Regions from separate parts of the Homo sapiens genome. Here regions 1 and 2 are each linked to region 3. Evidence: promoter capture Hi-C in 16 types of primary human blood cells and fetal thymus (Javierre and others, 2016). All regions are on one chromosome and are shown on one strand. Each heading gives the region's core, a stretch centred on a gene start or on the middle of the fragment in contact. The rest is flanking DNA. Distances are from core to core; before and after follow the strand shown. Region 1 has its middle 170 kb from the start of ADRA1A. Region 2 has its middle 160 kb from the start of DPYSL2. Region 3 holds the start of STMN4 (stathmin 4).

The links. Contacts are between HindIII fragments. The CHiCAGO score rates a contact against its expected background, and 5 or more counts as called.
Region 1: a contact is called between a fragment that was not itself captured here and the fragment with the promoter of STMN4 in region 3, in 3 of 17 cell types (M1 macrophages, M2 macrophages and endothelial precursors). The highest score is 5.8, in M1 macrophages.
Region 2: a contact is called between a fragment that was not itself captured here and the fragment with the promoter of STMN4 in region 3, in 1 of 17 cell types (M2 macrophages). The highest score is 6.9, in M2 macrophages.

Annotation. Positions count from the first base shown.
Region 1 is chr8:26,698,909-26,701,608 of GRCh38, reverse strand. No RefSeq gene overlaps it. Among named protein-coding and RNA genes, the nearest start is that of ADRA1A, 170 kb to the left of the region's middle. The HindIII fragment of the contact is 1,746 bases long and covers 548-2,293 here.
Region 2 is chr8:26,674,357-26,677,056 of GRCh38, reverse strand. No RefSeq gene overlaps it. Among named protein-coding and RNA genes, the nearest start is that of DPYSL2, 160 kb to the right of the region's middle. The HindIII fragment of the contact is 4,129 bases long and covers 1-2,700 here.
Region 3 is chr8:27,257,104-27,259,803 of GRCh38, reverse strand. STMN4 (stathmin 4) reads left to right here and starts at 1,400. Exons shown (of 7, transcript NM_030795.4): 1 at 1,400-1,453. The HindIII fragment of the contact is 11,371 bases long and covers 1-2,700 here.

The DNA of each region.
Region 1 (2,700 bases), core at 171-2,670, 560 kb after region 3:
AATAGTATAGTATGTTCCAAATGTACTAGTTGCAAGATTTCAGGAGACTGGGTTGCCAACAAGCTCAACAGAACCAAAGCACATAACTCCCCCAAATCCGATTGGTGATATCTCCTTTATTTCACCTGCTATGAACTACTGAGAACAACTGCAAGTTTGTTTGCAAATTTCCAAAGAACAGCTGGTGTTGCTCCCCTAAAGATGCACAGAGAGCCAAGATATCAGTTTCAATATGCACTGCCTGCTTATAAATAAAGTCAGCCCCATTAGAGATTTCTGCCAGTGTCTGTGAATACTCCACCTAGAGGGCATTTGAGTTTGCTACACACTTAAATACATTTCATCAGCTATAGTCACTTTTTGCTTCTTACAAAAACTTTAAGAGCTAGATTCACATTGCAGAGCTGCTGCTCAGGCTTTCAAGATTGAGAAAAAAAACTAAATGCTGTTATTCAGAAACCAATAGCAGACAACAAGAGAAATATTGGGGTGTACCTGTGTTGTTTCTTGCTGTCACTGGTACTGAAGCCGATGCATGATCAAAGCTTCATTTCCCTGCTTAAGTGCTGCTACCATTTTATTCACAGGAAATACACATGTAGGAGATGCTGGTGAGGATTCCTTCAAGTTTTGGGGAGAACTAAGCCACCCCATGTGATTAAATTCATATCCTAGGTATTGAAAATGATGGATGGATATTTCTTCTTTTTCTTTCTTTCTTTTTTTTTTTTTTTTGGAGACTGAGTCTTGCTCTGTCGCCCAGGCCGGAGTGCAGTGAGTGGCGTGATCTTGGCTCACTGCAAGCTCCGCCTTCCGGGTTCACGCCATTCTCCTGCCTCAGCCTCCCAAGTAGCTGGGACTACAGGTGCCCACCACCACACCCGGCTAATTTTTTTTGAGGCCTATTATTTTTTTAGAAAAGCCAGGAAATGTCATTCTATTGACTCTTCTGATTCCTTTTTCTTCCTCCAGTTCAGGACTTTCAAGGCTGCTGTACTTTGCTTTCAAAAATAGAACTTGAAACAAGTAGCTGTTGTGATTCGTTGACATGCTATAGATAACCATTCCAAACAAACTCTTGTAGTTTAGGGCTAGACATTTTGAAGATTTCTGTCAGTACTCACTACAGCAATCGCTAAATTGCTTTCAATTGAATCATGAATACTTCGTTAAGGCCAGTGCAAATCTCACAGTCAAAACGTTAATTTGCTTACAGGAAGTGGACCTGAAGCTATTTGAAAGAATTCTCAGAAAGAAGAATCAAAAGACACAGTCTCCAGTGTCCTAGTTCTAATCTTAGGAAGTGAAAGCACAGCTTCAATGCCTCATGCCACCTAAACCAGGAACAAAGGCAATTCACAAGCAACTCGGGAGGCTGAGGCGAGCAGATCATGGGGTCAGGAGCTCGAGACCAGCCCGGCCAACATGGTGAAACCTCGTCTCTACTAAAAATAAAAAATAAAAAATAAAAAAAATAGCTGGGCATGGTGGCGGGTGCCTGTAATCTCAGATACTGGGAAGGCTGAGTCAGGAGAATCATTTGAACCCAGGAGGTGGAGGTTGCAGTGAGCCAAGATCGCACCATCGCACTCCAGCCTGGAGGACAGGGCGAGATTCATCTCAAAAAAAAAAAAAAAAAAAAGAATATTGGATAGTGACCACATTTTTAAGAAGTGAAATTGGAGTAAGTAGTGAGGGGCAGGAATCAACAAGCATAAAACTTGGCTAAATTTCAACCCTGGCCTTACAGCATTGACAGAGGAAGGTTGCTGACACTGTTATCAATGTTTAGTACCGGAATCTCTTGTGCTTTCAACTGGTTCTCACAGACAGGTCATAGGATTCACCCCAGAGAGACTCTATGAACATAGAGGAAAGCCACCCGAGAGCAAATGTGGCCCAGTCTGTATCATTAAATCTAATCAGCCCTTACCAAGCTGAGAGAGCGTAGAGAGAAACTCTGAACTCTCCTCCAACAGTTAATATTTATTAATGAGCCCCCAACTCCAGTTCTCACAAACTAAGTGCTGTCAGAGGTGTAAGTGTCAGTAAAGCAGACAAAAATTACTATAATATTTTGTTGCACTTCAGCCATAAGCATAGTCACCAAGCACAGACACTTCCAAACGTTGATTTCACAGAGCTTCAAGTTGAAAGGAATCCATTTCAGGTGTCCCATGGAGGTGTACTTTCTATGAGGAAGGCAGGGGCTTTTGGCTGAAGAAATGGAGGAGTTTGTTGGTGCACTCCAACTTGAACGCATCCCTGACTTCCACAAATATGCACAGAAGCTTCTAAATATTTATCTGGATTTCTAGAACTGGAATTTAAGTTCTACTTGAAAGTCCTAGCGATCCACAGAAGCAAGCAATCCAATAGTAGCCGTTTGATTTTTTTAATATCAAAATAATAATAGTTAGCAAACAAACTCATTGTACTTAAAAGCTGGCTACAGTGAGCATTCAGAGGAGCTTCTAAATGGGATCTCATGCCATCAAAAACTAGAAGCAAAGCTCTGAACCCTTTGCAGTCCTCCCTAAAGTGTCAAGGAATCCACACCATCAATTCCTTGTATTTTCACATACTGCCAAAAAATGTCACAAGACTATGAATTTTCTAGCAGGGGAAAGAAAAGGCCTCCTGTAGCATTGAAAATGTCTTCTTGAGACTCCATTAAGCAAAGACCAACACTCACTGTGT
Region 2 (2,700 bases), core at 59-2,558, 580 kb after region 3:
GCCTAGGTTTTCTTCTAGGGTTTTTATGGTTTTAGGTCTAACGTTTAAGTCTTTAATCCATCTTGAATTGATTTTTGTATAAGGTGTAAGGAAGGGATCCAGTTTCAGTTTTCTACATATGGCTAGCCAGTTTTCCCAGCACCATTTATTAAATAGGGAATCCTTTCCCCATTGCTTGTTTTTCTCAGGTTTGTCAAAGATCAGATTGTTGTAGATATGTGGCATTATTTCTGAGGGCTCTGTTCTGTTCCATTGATCTATATCTCTGTTTTGGTACCAGTACCTTGCTGTTTTGGTTACTGTAGCCTTGTAGTATAGTTTGAAGTCAGGTAGTGTGATGCCTCCAGCTTTGTTCTTTTGGCTTAGGATTGACTTGGCGAAGGACATGAACAGACACTTCTCAAAAGAAGACATTTATGCAGCCAAAAAACACATGAAAAAATGCTCACCATCACTGGCCATCAGAGAAATGCAAATCAAAACCACAATGAGATACCATCTCATACCAGTTAGAATGGCAATCATTAAAAAGTCAGGAAACAATAGGTGCTGGAGAGGATGTGGAGAAATAGGAACACTTTTACACTGTTGGTGGGACTGTAAACTAGTTCAACCCTTTTGGAAGTCAGTGTGGTGATTCCTCGGGGATCTAGAACTAGAAATACCATTTGACCCAGCCATCCCATTACTGGGTATATACCCAAAGGACTATAAATCATGCTGTTATAAAGACACATGCACACATATGTTTATTGCGGCATTATTCACAATAGCAAAGACTTGGAACCAACCCAAATGTCCAACAATGATAGACTGGATTAAGAAAATGTGGCACATATACACCATGGAATACTATGCAGCCATAAAAAATGATGAGTTCACATCCTTTGTAGGGACATGGATGAAATTGGAAATCATCATTCTCAGTAAACTATCGCAAGAACAAAAAACCAAACACCGCATATTCTCACTCATCGGTGGGAATTGAACAATGAGAACACATGGACACAGGAAGGGGAACATCACACTCTGGGGACTGTTGTGGGGTGGGGGGAGGGGGGAGGGATAGCATTGGGAGATATACCTAATGCTAGATGACAAGTTAGTGGGTGCAGTGCACCAGCATGGCACATGTATACATATGTAACTAACCTGCACATTGTGCACATGTACCCTAAAACTTAAAGTATAATAATAATAAATTTAAAAAAAAAAAGACAATAACAACTGTTGGCAAGAATGTGGAGAAATTGGAAAACTTATGTGCCATTGGTGGGAATTTGAAATGGTGCAGCTGCTATGGAAAACAGTATGGTGGTTCCTCAAAAAATTGAAAGTAGGATTACCATAAGATCCAGCAATTTCATCTAAGTATATACCCAAAAGATTTAACAGAAGGCACTCAAACAGATATTTATACACCCATGTTCATAGCAGCATTATCCACAATAGCCAACATGTGGAAGAAACCCAAGTGTCTATTGACCAACGCACAGATAAACAAAATGTGGTGTATACTCACAATGAAATGTTATTCGGCCTTGATAAAGGAGATTCTGACACATACTATAACATGGATGAACCTGGAAGATATTATGCTAAATTAAATAAGCCAATCACAGAAGGACAATGCTGCATGAGTCCACTAATATGAGATAGCTAGAGTAGTCAAAATCATACAGACAAAGTGGAGTGGTGATTGCCAGGAATGGGGGCCAGGGGGAAGGGGGAGCTGGTGCTTAATGAGGACAGAGTTTCAGTTTCACAAGATGAAAAAAGTTCTGGAAATGGGTGGTGGTGATGGTTGTACAAGAGTGTGAATATACTTTATGCCATTGAACTGCACACCTAAAAGTGATGACATGCTTAAAAATAAAATAAAATAGAGATGGCTACTAAGAGGTTAAGTCACAACCCTGAAGCCAGGAGATATTCTCACTCTAAAGGCCCCAGGTTCATGTTTTAATTTTCAAATACACAAAGGGGACCCTAAGAAACAGGCAACAGGAGGCCGGGCGCAGTGGCTCTTGCCTGTAATCCCAGCACTTTGGGAGGCCGAGGCGGGCAGATCACCTGAGGTCTGGAGTTCGAGACCAGCCTGACCAACATGGAGAAACCCTGTCTCAGCTAAAAATATAAAATTAGCCGGGCTTGGTGGCACATGCCTGTAATCCCTACTCAGGAGGCTGAGGCATAAGAATCACTTGAACCCAGGAGGCAGAGGTTGTGGTGAGCAGAGATCACGCCATTGCATTCCAGCCAGGGCAACAGGAGTGAAGCTCTGTCTCAAAAAAAAAAAGAAAGGAAGAAAAGAAACAGGCAACAGGAATTGACTTGCCCGTAAAGAAGAACATCTTGGCTGGGTGATGACAAGGTGCTCGTCTTAACATGGATAACTGGATGTTTATCGCAGGAATTTCATGCACCTTGGTGCATGCTGGTCCTGCTTGTCTCAAGGCAGGGATTCTCTTGCATAGATGGGATACTCTGTTCCCATCAGCCTCCTGCTTGCTCCGGGACAGGGATTCTCCTGCATAGATGGGATGCTCTGCTCCCATCAGCCTCTCTCAGTTTTACTCACGTTGTGACAGTGTCAAGTTCTCTAGTCCTGACTAAGAAGGGTTTAATTTCTTCTGTTGCTGGTAAAGATGTAGCCAGGGGCTTCTGTCTTGGTCAAAGTATTGCTTAGATCAATTACAT
Region 3 (2,700 bases), core at 151-2,650:
ATCGCTGACCCGTCACCCCCCCTCAAGATTCCACCATATGGAAATGTAAACTAGTACAGTCACTATGGAAAACAGTGTGAAAAATTTTTAAAGAACTAAAAGTAAATCTACCATTTGATCCACCAATCCTACTCCTGGGTATCTACCCAGAGAAAAAGAAGTTATTGTACAAAAAAGATACTTGCACATGCATGCTTATAGCAGCATGATTCGCAATTGCAAAAATATAGAACCAGCCCAAATGCCCACCAATTAACAAGTGGATAAAGAAAATGTAATACACACACACACACACACACACACACACACACACACACACACCGTGGAATACTACTCAGCCATAAAAAGCAATGAAATAATGGCATTTGCAGCAACCTGGGTGGAATTGGAGACCATTATTCTAAGTGAAGTAACTCAGGAATGGAAAACCAAACATCATATGTTCTCACTCATAAGTGGGAGCTAAGCTAGGAGGGCGCGAAGGCATAAGAATGATACAAGGGACTTAGGAGACTTGGGGGAAAGAGTGGGAGGAGAGTGAGGGATAAAAGACTACTCACTGGGGACAGCGTACACTGCTCGGGTGATGGTGCACCAAAATCTCAGAAATCACCACTAAAGAACTTATTCATGTAACCAAACACCACCTGTTTCCCAAAAACTTACTGAAAATTTTAAAAAATCCACCATATTTGGGAATCACCAGTGTAATGACCAGTCCATCTTCCTACCTGTGGCTCCCTCTGGAAGGCCCAGGAGGGCTGGATGGGAGGGGCAGTGAGGACCCACTAGTGTCAGCAGAGATGTGGCTGATACCTTTGCAAAGGTGGCCAGAGGGAAGCCTTATTCTCCAGAGACTCCAGTGCAGGGCCCTCATCAGCTCCCAATCCTGGGGTTTTTGCAGTCCCCGCAACCCCCCGCCTTCTGAGTCATCGTTCAAACCCACCAGCCCTTCTGACAGAGCTGGAAACAGGCACCAAGCCCTCCAGGAAGCTATTTTTAGGGTTCATCTGTTCTTTTTTATTTCTTCTCTGGATTCCATATTCTCTCACCCCCAAATTTAAAGGACCTAAAGATCCTGGAAATCATTCATTATACCCCCAGCTCGCAAGCTGTGGCTTCTCCCCAACCTTCTCTGTACCACTCCCTCTTTCTTTCTTCCTCTCCGCCCTCACCCCTCTGGTTCTCCAGCTCCACAGGCAGCAGAGAAAGCAGGCTCTTTGTCTGACATCATCTTTCACTCCCTGGCCTGCTAAGAGTTACTCACTCAGGCAATCCCTGCTCCACCAGAGGAGACTGTCCAATTGCCAAGCAACCCACTGCTGGCCAATCACAGAGCTTGGAGGTGATGTCATGGCAAGAGCGAGCAGTGGTGCTGATGTTGAGAGAAGCCCAGGGTACCACTAATTGAGGGAGTGAGGAAGAGAGCAGCTCGCTTCTAACTGGACTGCACGTAAGTAGAAATAAAATGCAACTAATTTGAGGCTTTTCAGGCAAAAGAAAAAACAAGACAGCAGCTACAGTGGGGAGAAGCGAGGGGCCTAGCACCTATTGTGTCACCTTTGGTTCTACTCAATCATTTAAACTTTGTCAGATCTTGGGGGAAAGGGGGTGAGGCAGAAAGAATGGCGCTCGGCCAAGGGGTGAGGGTGGGCTCCGGGTGCCACTTTTATTCCAGAGCTCAGGAGAGGCAGGATGGGTGGGAATTGTCAGATGCTATGGTGAGCTATTTCTGCATAAAAATGTTTTGTTGCTTAAGGAGAAAGGTTTTGTGCTGAGTCTGGCTGCCCCTGCAGCTGGCTGTGACCTGAAGATCCCTTTCAAGTGGGAAGCTCTCCTGTGTTTTTACCTTTTCTTCCTCAGACACAGCTTTTCTTGTCTCCCATTCCCATTTTGATCACACATCTTTTCCTTCGGCTCTATGCACGGGTTACTTTTTTCTCTTGGTTCTAAGGATGCAATGAGATCATCACCTCCTCTTGGCCCCGCCCCACCCTGAGGTCAGCCTAATCCTACCTGGCCAGAGGTGGCTGGCTCCAAAGCTGAAAACTGCAGACACCCAGAACTGCCACGCCCTGGTCCTTGACTGGGGCCCTGGCCAGTCCCCCTCCTTATTCAGCCCACCACACTTGCCAGGAGTTTAGGCATCATTCATTTCTCATCCTGGGACCCAGGGTTTTGATGTCCAGCAGTCAGCTGTCCCCACGTGGCGGTGCTGTCTTTGTTTTATTTCTCCCAGGAAGACACAATCAGGTGTGGTGGAGTCTTGTTGTCCTGAACATGAGCAGGTCTCCAGAATGCTGTGTGTGTGTGTGTGTGTGTGTGTGTGTGTGTGTGTGTGTGTTTGTATGGGGGTCGGAGGGAGAGGTCAGGAATGTTCAGGCACCCTTATCTGAATGCCCTGGGAAGGGATACCCCCTGTCTTAAGACCAAGAGAATACAAGGTGGGATGGCCAGAGGTGGCCTGCTGAGGCTCGAGGGATGGGTGGGAGGTTGAGAGGGAATATGAGGGAATCTGTCTCCACCTGAGGCTGAGCCCCCGCCTCCCAGGGGGAGGAAACCTCTCCCACAGGCGGGTGCTAGGGGAATGAGATCATCCTTCAGATGAGGAAATAATCATAGTGCTGGAGCAGTGAGAAGGCAGAGGGGAAAAGGTCTGATCTGCAGCTCCACAGAAGGAAGCCAGAGTCTCCCAGCAAT